2 separate regions of the Homo sapiens genome follow, and region 2 is linked to region 1. The links are contacts of gene promoters, found by promoter capture Hi-C in human tissues and cell types (Jung and others, 2019). All regions are on one chromosome and are shown on one strand. The core of a region is centred on a gene start or on the middle of the fragment in contact, and the rest is flanking DNA. Distances in the headings are between cores, read along the strand shown.

The links. Contacts are between HindIII fragments. The study calls those that stand out against the background at their distance.
Region 2: a fragment that was not itself captured here is called in contact with the fragment with the promoter of C2orf66 in region 1 in 1 of the 25 tissues and cell types used here (dorsolateral prefrontal cortex).

What each region holds. Positions count from the first base shown.
Region 1 is chr2:196,807,268-196,811,506 of GRCh38, forward strand. C2orf66 (chromosome 2 open reading frame 66) reads right to left here and starts at 2,088. Exons shown (of 3, transcript NM_213608.3): 1 at 1,947-2,088; 2 at 157-355. The coding sequence starts at 2,069. The coding sequence ends at 176. The HindIII fragment of the contact is 3,112 bases long and covers 475-3,586 here.
Region 2 is chr2:197,388,526-197,392,764 of GRCh38, forward strand. SF3B1 (splicing factor 3b subunit 1) reads right to left here. Exons shown (of 25, transcript NM_012433.4): 25 at 1,259-3,936. The coding sequence ends at 3,778. Among named protein-coding and RNA genes, the nearest start is that of SF3B1, 44 kb to the right of the region's middle. The HindIII fragment of the contact is 5,939 bases long and covers 1-4,239 here.

The DNA.
Region 1 (4,239 bases), core at 838-3,337:
AAATCCAAATACTTAATAGTAATGAGTATAAGCAGAACTGAGCATTTATTTCTATGAGGAAATAAAATTATGTTTTCAAATAAATACTTTCAAAATATCTACTTTATGGCTGACTTGTATGTTTGGACAGATCCAGAATAAAGGGCCAACTTTTACCTGAGCTCAGAAGAAACTTTCAGCCTTTGAGATAATTGTGAAAGGAGTTTTTCTGCTCTTCATAATCTGCAGATGCAGAAGCAGTAAGTTCTGACTGGAAAGAGAGAGGTCTAGGATTTTCATTCGTGGGGAAAGGATTTGGAAATGTTCCAAGATCAAGACCTCTGCCCTTAAAATATGCCTGAAGCCTTCTGAAAAACTAAAGAGAGAAAGAAAATGGTCAATGCCAGATATAAATGAAACACCAAAAATAAAGGTGTTTTTCTTCCCTCTATTTTTCCCCTGAATTGACTTTAAGGCTAATCTAAGAGGCAGGAAATACAAAATCTAGAAATACAAGTACATGCTTCAGCTACTTCTCCTCCCCTCCTCTGTACCTTCTTTCTGACATTTCAACCCTAACCAAAATAATTCACCATTCTTACTGAAAATTGAAGGAAGACTATGGAGCGGCACCACAGTGGAAAGATTCATTGTGAACTATCTCTGAGTACTAAGGTCAAAGGTGAAAATGAACTCCATAATAAGCAGCTCAGTATCTCCTCTTCCTTAATATGAGATCTCTGTTGTTGCCTTCTGCAATAGTTTCTTTTCAGATTTCCATTAGGAAATGAACACAGAAGATGTGCGAAGTGCTACTTGCTTTGATGCAGGACAGGCAAATCCCAAAACTGGAGCTTAGCACAGGAGGGTTCTTGGCTTTGCCCAGAAAAGAATTTAAGGGCAGGCTGGTTGTGGTAACAATCTTTTATTGAAAGGTACTGCTCCTGCCAGAACAAGGCTAATTCATAGGTAGTGCACCTAGGGCTGACAACATATGGGCTCTTATCAACTGTGTTTTTATCCACTTTTGAATATATGCAAATTAAGGGATGGGTTAATGCAAACAGAAGGGAGTTATTTAGAGCTTTCTAGGAAAGAGGTGGTAACTTTTGGGTCATTGCCATGGAAAGGAGTGGTAGCTTCCAGGTAATTGCCATGACATTTGTAAACTGTCATGGCACTGAGGGGAGGATCATATCCTAAGAGCAATGAGAGCAGGTCGGGACCACTTTTGTTGCCATCTGCTGGTTTCACCCAGTGTTTTCACTTTATCCTGTCTGGACCAGATCCTGTTTTCGTCAGCAGCTGTGACCAGAAAACAAATCCTGCTGGTCTCTTATCTCAGTTTATTTTAATCCTATGTTGTTATATTTCCCATCATTCACTTTAGAAAAACCATATTTCAAAATAGTCATGTCAACATGTTTATTGTATTTGGCATTTTTTTTAAAGAGAATGTTTACTGATCTTTTGAATTCTATTTTATAGATAACTATATGTTGAAAATATGTCCAGTAAATTGATACCCATGCAGGGTCAACTTTCAATTTTTGCAGCTGAGCTTGGCAATCTCTAGTTATATGATAACTTGTTTTATCATCAGTTCAATCTAAGCTATGCACGAGCAATTCCCTGTTACACTCTTTATTTTTTATATGTATTAGAAATCAAGGCTACAAAGTCAATGTGTATATAAGATCAGTTACAAATGAATTGTACTATGTGTGTATAAGATTGTTTCTAAATATAAATTTGTTTCTCTTTACAGAAACAAATGTAAACTGGCCAGAGAAACAATAGGTTGCCAACCACTAGGGTAGTAAAACTCTGGTCCAATCCTGTTGGAGAATTTTCTCAACCCTTGGTAGCCCCCTTTCCACTACGTTCTGGAAAACAGAATGCTGTGTGCGTAAATCCAAAGAGGCATTAGTTCTATCCTGAAACCCAGGCCCCAAGTGTGTTCTTACCAGATCTCTGTTTCTGGGGTTGTTGAGTGGCTTCCATTTGTCCTCATTTCTTACTGTGGCTCCATTCACATGCCCAAGCAGCACCAGGGCAACACATAGTAGCAGGAGAGGTGCTCTGGTCATGGTGGAGTGAAGCTGAGTGAAAGAGGGGATGCGGGAGCTGTCAATGATCATTGAGAGAGATAGTCAGGGAAGAGAGAGAGAAAGAGGAAACATCTGTAAAGGCAGACAAGGAAGGAGAAATAGCATACTGGTTTATCTAAGTTTTACAGCCATCTTTTTTCCAGATTGACTTCTAAATGAGGACCCCAAAATGCAACTGATTAGCTTAAAGTAGCCCATGATAATGAGAATGTTATACAGTGATAAGCAAAACAATTATGGAACATAACATAGAAAGTCTGAATATGCCTTTTTCATCTTTGGAAAAAAAGTACTTTGTTGTCTCCAAAGAAACTGCAACTCTTAAAATAACAAAAAACAAAACCTTAAATTACTTTTAAGCCTTAAGACAGCAGTCTTTAAAAAAAAGAAAAGAAAAAGAAATTACTTCAGATACCGAGCTGAGAAATACACCTTATACACACATCTGAGACAGACAGACACATACCACAACAGTGTGAGTAGAGATTGTCTTCCACTCCAAGGTGTGAAAGAGAAACTGAGACACATTGTAGAAAAGGCTAATAAAGCTTACCAGGAGTTTGGTTTTGGTTGGTCCTCCTAGGTTATCCTGCCTATAATTGGCAAGGCAATTCATGGGTACTTATAACCAATGGATTGGGTGCCAGTGGAAGTCACTGACTTGAGCAGGGGAGTTAAAAAATAATGATTCCTTTTTCATCCAGAACACAAAGATTCTTGAGAGTCAGATCTTCAAGCTTCTTCAGGGATAAGCTTATTTGCCTTAGAAATGCGGCAGCCACTCCTTGAACCACGAACATTTTATGTGGATTTTATAAAACACACAAAGCACTTCCACACAGCAAAGTGATTTTCTCCTTTTTTACTTTTAAGGGAAGGGATACACCTGGAAATATGATGGATTATAGCTGGAAATATGATGATGATTATCCCACCTATTAGAACGTTCTTTTGGAGATATGACTTTTTCAAGTTAACAGCATTTTTTGAACAGAAAATTCTTTTGTGAGAGACAAAATTACTCTTTTTGACCTATACCTTGTACTTTTTTCTGAGAACCTCAAGAAGCTTTACAAGTTTTAAATAGTGGCATCATTTATCATAATATCTCTTCAAAATAGAGCAAGAAGATAACACATGTTTCATGGAAAAAAGATAAATTACTATACCTACAACATTCCCTTGCTGAATAAATGCCATCTGTAGAAAATGGTAGGCCGAGAAATTGGACTTGAGTTGTGACGTTGCTTTGGTTCCAATGATTTAGAACAAAATTTAGGACAAGATATTTATTCAGAAGGCTGGTGATCTCGACTGGAAATTAGCAAACCTGGCTATAGTCTCAGTCTTGCCATCTTGACCCTGGGCAAGTTACTATGACCTCTGCCCTTCAGTTGTTCATTTCCTCTGTTTATTCATTCAGCAGACTTTTACAAAGTGCCTACTATGTGCCAGGTACTGCAACAGGATTTGAGGATGAAATGGTAAGAATAATAAATACAGTCCTTGCCCTCATTAAAATAGAGTAGTGGGCAAGACAAACATTAATCAAATCGTACAACCAAATGTGTACATATAAGTGAACAATCATTTCTATGAAATAGCGAGTGCTATGAAAGTATAGAAAAAGGGAATTTGATTCAGTCTGAGAGCCAAGGAAGTCTTCTGTGAAGAAATGACCTTACATCCAGTCAACTGAATAGGAGTTACCCAGGCAACCTGAGGAAGACAGAGGGAGAAGTGTGTCTAAAAAGGTGAACAGCTGTGCTAGGAATGGGGCACTTTAAAGGTACTGAAATTATGCCAGGCGTAGAGGGAGCAGGTGGGATGCCTGACGCAAGATGGGGCCGGAGAGGTAGTCAGATTATGATCTTTAGGCTACAAGTAATGCTAACTGATTAAAGGGTTTTAGGCATCAAAGAAGCTTGATCATACTTGCATTTTTAAAAGGTTATTCTGGTTGCAGTGGGGAGGAGAGACTGAGCTAGAAAAGAGGGCTGCGCAAAGCCAGTTAGGTGGTTACACAGTAGTCCAGGCAGGAAAAGATGTTAACTTGGATTAGGGCGATGTTAGCACAGATGCACAGATTATGGGTAGATCTGAGAGAGATTTATAAGGGATTGTTAATGTACTGGGTACTACGGGGAGG
Region 2 (4,239 bases), core at 1,141-3,640, 580 kb after region 1:
CAACTTTTTTCAAAGTTTGGGCAGTTATAGAAACAATTTCTTCTATTTACAAGTTTTTTCCTAGCACAAACCTATTTAGATTAAATCCCCTCGCCAGCCTCTCAGCTAACATGTTAAAATTTCCTTCCAGAACTTCATTAATCAGCCAGGCTATAAAAAAGTAACTGTCCAAGGCCCAAGCATGTCCTTTCAAAATCTTTTTAGAATCCACAAAATAAATTTTAAAACTTAGTTATTCTAGCAAGAACACTAGAGATGTCACTGACTACACTCACTCTGGTTTACTTACTTATTCCCTCCTGCCTACAAATCTTGACTGCCTTGCAAACCTAAATTCTCTATCAAGTCACATTAAATTCCCTCCATGGCTTCCTATCCAAATTTTTTAAAAGGGGAGGAAGGGGTTTCTGTGCCCTGCCTGCCCTCCTCTTCCAGCCGTACCATATAACCCACCTATCGCCAGCTCACAGGTGAGAACACAATGCTTGAAGACCAGCATCCCAAGTGGAGCACCAAGCCACCTCCAGCACTCCTGCCCGAGCTGCCAACATGGCTCCCAACTGTCACAAGATGCTCTGAGGATCAGTGCGGGGTCATCTTACACATTTTCACAGCTTACTCTCCCCAGGACTTATGCGGAGCTTTACCCCAAGGTAGACATTTAAGTATTTGCTAAGTTGTATTTCTAGTTACTTCCTAGACAACTGCTGCCTAAAATCAAATGCTTTATATATCATGCTTTAATTTTATTAAACATGTAAGTCCTGCTTAAACAATGGTCTCAGTGGTTCTCACCCTAGGGAGATTTTGCTCTCCAAGGGACATGAGACAATGTCTGGAGGCATTTTTGGTTATTACACTGGGATGGGGGTGTGCTGCTGGCATCTCAATAGGTAGAGGTCAGGAACACTGCTCAAGATTCTGCAAGGCACAGGACAGCACCCCCACAATAATGAATTATTTGATTCAAGATGTCAATAATGCCAAGGTTGAGAAACCCTAGGGTAGCTGTAGTGTTTTCTTTTAACCTTAGGGGATTTGAGAGCCACTGGAAACCAAAGAGCCAAACTGAACCTATGTGGCTGCAACTTTTTTAGTTTCTTATTAAAGAAAAAGTTCTCTGGTTTTTCAACACTAAGTTCCCTTATTTCGAAAACAACCGAAAGAGCTCAATTTTGCAAAAATGGCACAACCACAACAGAGTGCAGTGTGATAACAATACAGAGTCAACTAAGATTAAAAATTGGTCTACTAAGACTTTAGATATAATACGTTTTATTCATCTAGTGGTACTTGGTGCTCACAGGGCACTGTACAACAAATTTTAAAAATACAATATGAAAAAAATCAAACAGCCAGAGATCAATTCCATTAGAGGGCGATGGCCCACAGAAAAACCAACAAAGGCCCACAGAAAAACCCACCCTGTCTCCTTAAGAACATTTCTTTGTTTGGCTTTAAGAAACACCAAAAGAAAATACAAAAGAAAAGGTCTTTGAGAAGATAGGTAAAACTTCACATAGCGTCTTCCACATATCACAAAATGCTTTCCTTATTTAATAATAAGCACATAAAATAATCCAAATATCTGTGAGCCTCTATTTGGTCCCAATGTTTTAGGTCATAGCTTTCACTACTTCCCTCCTCTCTATCCTCAAATTATTTGCATCAGTAAAAAAAGTTAATTAAGGTGTAACAGTCTCCTTTGCTCCACAATGCCACTACAAAGCCTATTTTCCATAAAGAACCAGAGGCCAAGCAAACGTAGGCTACTAAGTACTTGAATTGAAAATACAACTAAAATTTCCTGAGTCATTTAACATCAAATTTTGGCTTTGTAATCTATTTGTATTCAATTCTCAGTCATTACTGAAGGTCATTTGACATCAACCATAGAGAGCAGTGAGATTTAAAGTTGCATGGAAGTACCGCTGAAAACTTCTAACAACAGAAAGATGAGTTTGGAGTGTTTAATTTTACTACATAGTGACATATATTCAGAAAGTTGTCATACAAGGAATGATGAGGAGTTACAAATCCAACTTGGAAACCCTTAATGCTCACTATCAATTTGTTGAAAGTCAATTTTTTTTTTTTTTTTGAGACGGAGTCTCTGTCGCCCAGGCTGGAGTGTAGCAGCGCTATCTCGGCTCACTGCAAGCTCCGCCTCCCGGGTTCAAGCCATTCTCCTGCCTCAGCCTCCCTAGTAGCTGGGACTACAGGCGCCCGCCACCACGCCTGGCTAATTTTTGTATTTTTAGTAGACGGGACTTCACCGCGTTAGCCAGGATGGTCTCGATCTCCTGACCTCGTGATCCGCCCGCCTCAGCCTCCCAAAGTGCTGGGATTACAGGCATGAGCCACCACACCCGGCCACAAGCTGTTTCTTAACTAAGCTTCTGAAGCAGGAACTCCTAAAGTGTCAATAGGCAGTTTTACTTACAGTAGTAGTTATATACTAATGCTGCTTGCAGAATTTTTTTTCCCTTTAGAGTTCACAGAAGTACTACCACATGGAGACAAAACAAAACAGTAAAAATAGTATAGGTAGTAAAAAGGCCAAAACTAAGAAATTTGGGGCCATAACATTAGAAAAGTTTGAAAATATACTTTACATATTTGCTTAAAAAATTAAGTGTAGTACTGCCTTAATGCTTGGTTCCTCTACCATTAAATGGCATTTCATTCAGTTTATGCTGAACTCTTAGATCAACTTATTATTACTGAATACAAAGCTAAGCAAACCTAGACATTTTAGCTGCTGCCACTGTGTATTATCACAGTACATAAGGAATCTGTCACAAGGTTTGTCTCCCCTTCTCCATTATACTGTTCTTAAAGGTAGAGGGCAGGTCTCATGCACCTTTGCATCCCCTGCATATAAGCACAGTGGCTGGCATACAGTGGGTGAATAGGTATTTACTGATGCATTGCTGAGTAGTGGCTTATAACATGGAGAAAAGCCCAACATTGTCCTGTTCTATCAGCATTACTTAGGTATCCTCACTCCTAATAGGCAGAAAGCAGTTTTGAAGTAAAGTTAAATTCCTCACTTGCTAAACACAGCAGACCTGTCAAGTGTTGGACAAGACTTAAACCACTTTCTTTAAATGTGTTCATAAAGCATTTTGAGAAATCAAGAGATGAAAGGCGCTATGTAAGTACAAAATATTCAAGACAGTTTAGCAAAAGTGCTACTTTTCTACGATGATGGAATGGTTGTGCTAGTTTGAGGGGAACATCCCCTGAGGCTACTCTTCTTGCTGTCATTATTAACACAACAATGGAATTTTGACAAAGATGCCATCACTTTATATAGTTTTTATTCAGCTAACTACTTTCTATAAACCATGTGACAGAAAATGAAATTAAGCCACTTATTCCACATAAACCAATACTTTATCAAAGTTCCGCATTTTACAAGTCATGTTCAAAAAACACACACAAATTAGCATTTTGTACACAAATGTTTATTTCTCAATTAAACATTCCCTTTAAACACAAGGAATGAGTTCTAAATCTTCATAAAGATGAATTAAAAATGAAATCCCTCCAGTATAGTGTATATAATCACTGTGTTCTTGGTCACTACTGGCATTTACTGTTTAACATCAAAAACAAAGACAGGTTATTTAAAAATCATGCTACTGGATTTCTAGCTCTTCCTCTATGACCAGTTCTACACTGATCTGCAATGTTTAAAAGTTTACATCACCAAATCAAAGCAAGTTTAAGGTGTGAAGTAGCTGTGCATTAAACACAAAATAAACAATAAAATTATAAGATATAGTCAAGTTCATAACGAATATAGGTGTTCTTATCATCGTTGTAGATTCTTGGGTAATGTGCTATGAGAGCGTCCTGGGAACCAATGTAGATGGAGTTGTAAATTTTCCAATATACATCTCTGACTTTCCGGGCTGGGTGAAACAGACCCTAAAATAATTGAACGGTTACATTATTTCAATTTTTAAGAACATACATAACCTTAACAAAATTAAGAAAACATAAAGATATGATTCAAAATTATTTCCCTTGGGGAGTTGGGGGGGGGGGAACCTACTAATTACACTGCTCTTAAGCTGCAATGGAAGAGACAAAACTCACTCCCCTGTCACCACACAATTGTTCTACCATATGGCACAATATACCCTAATGATAATCAGGAAAAGTAACTTAATTCAATACACTACTTTTCTTGCTAAGTAATCTTTTAAAAATCTTTAACTTACAGGCAGT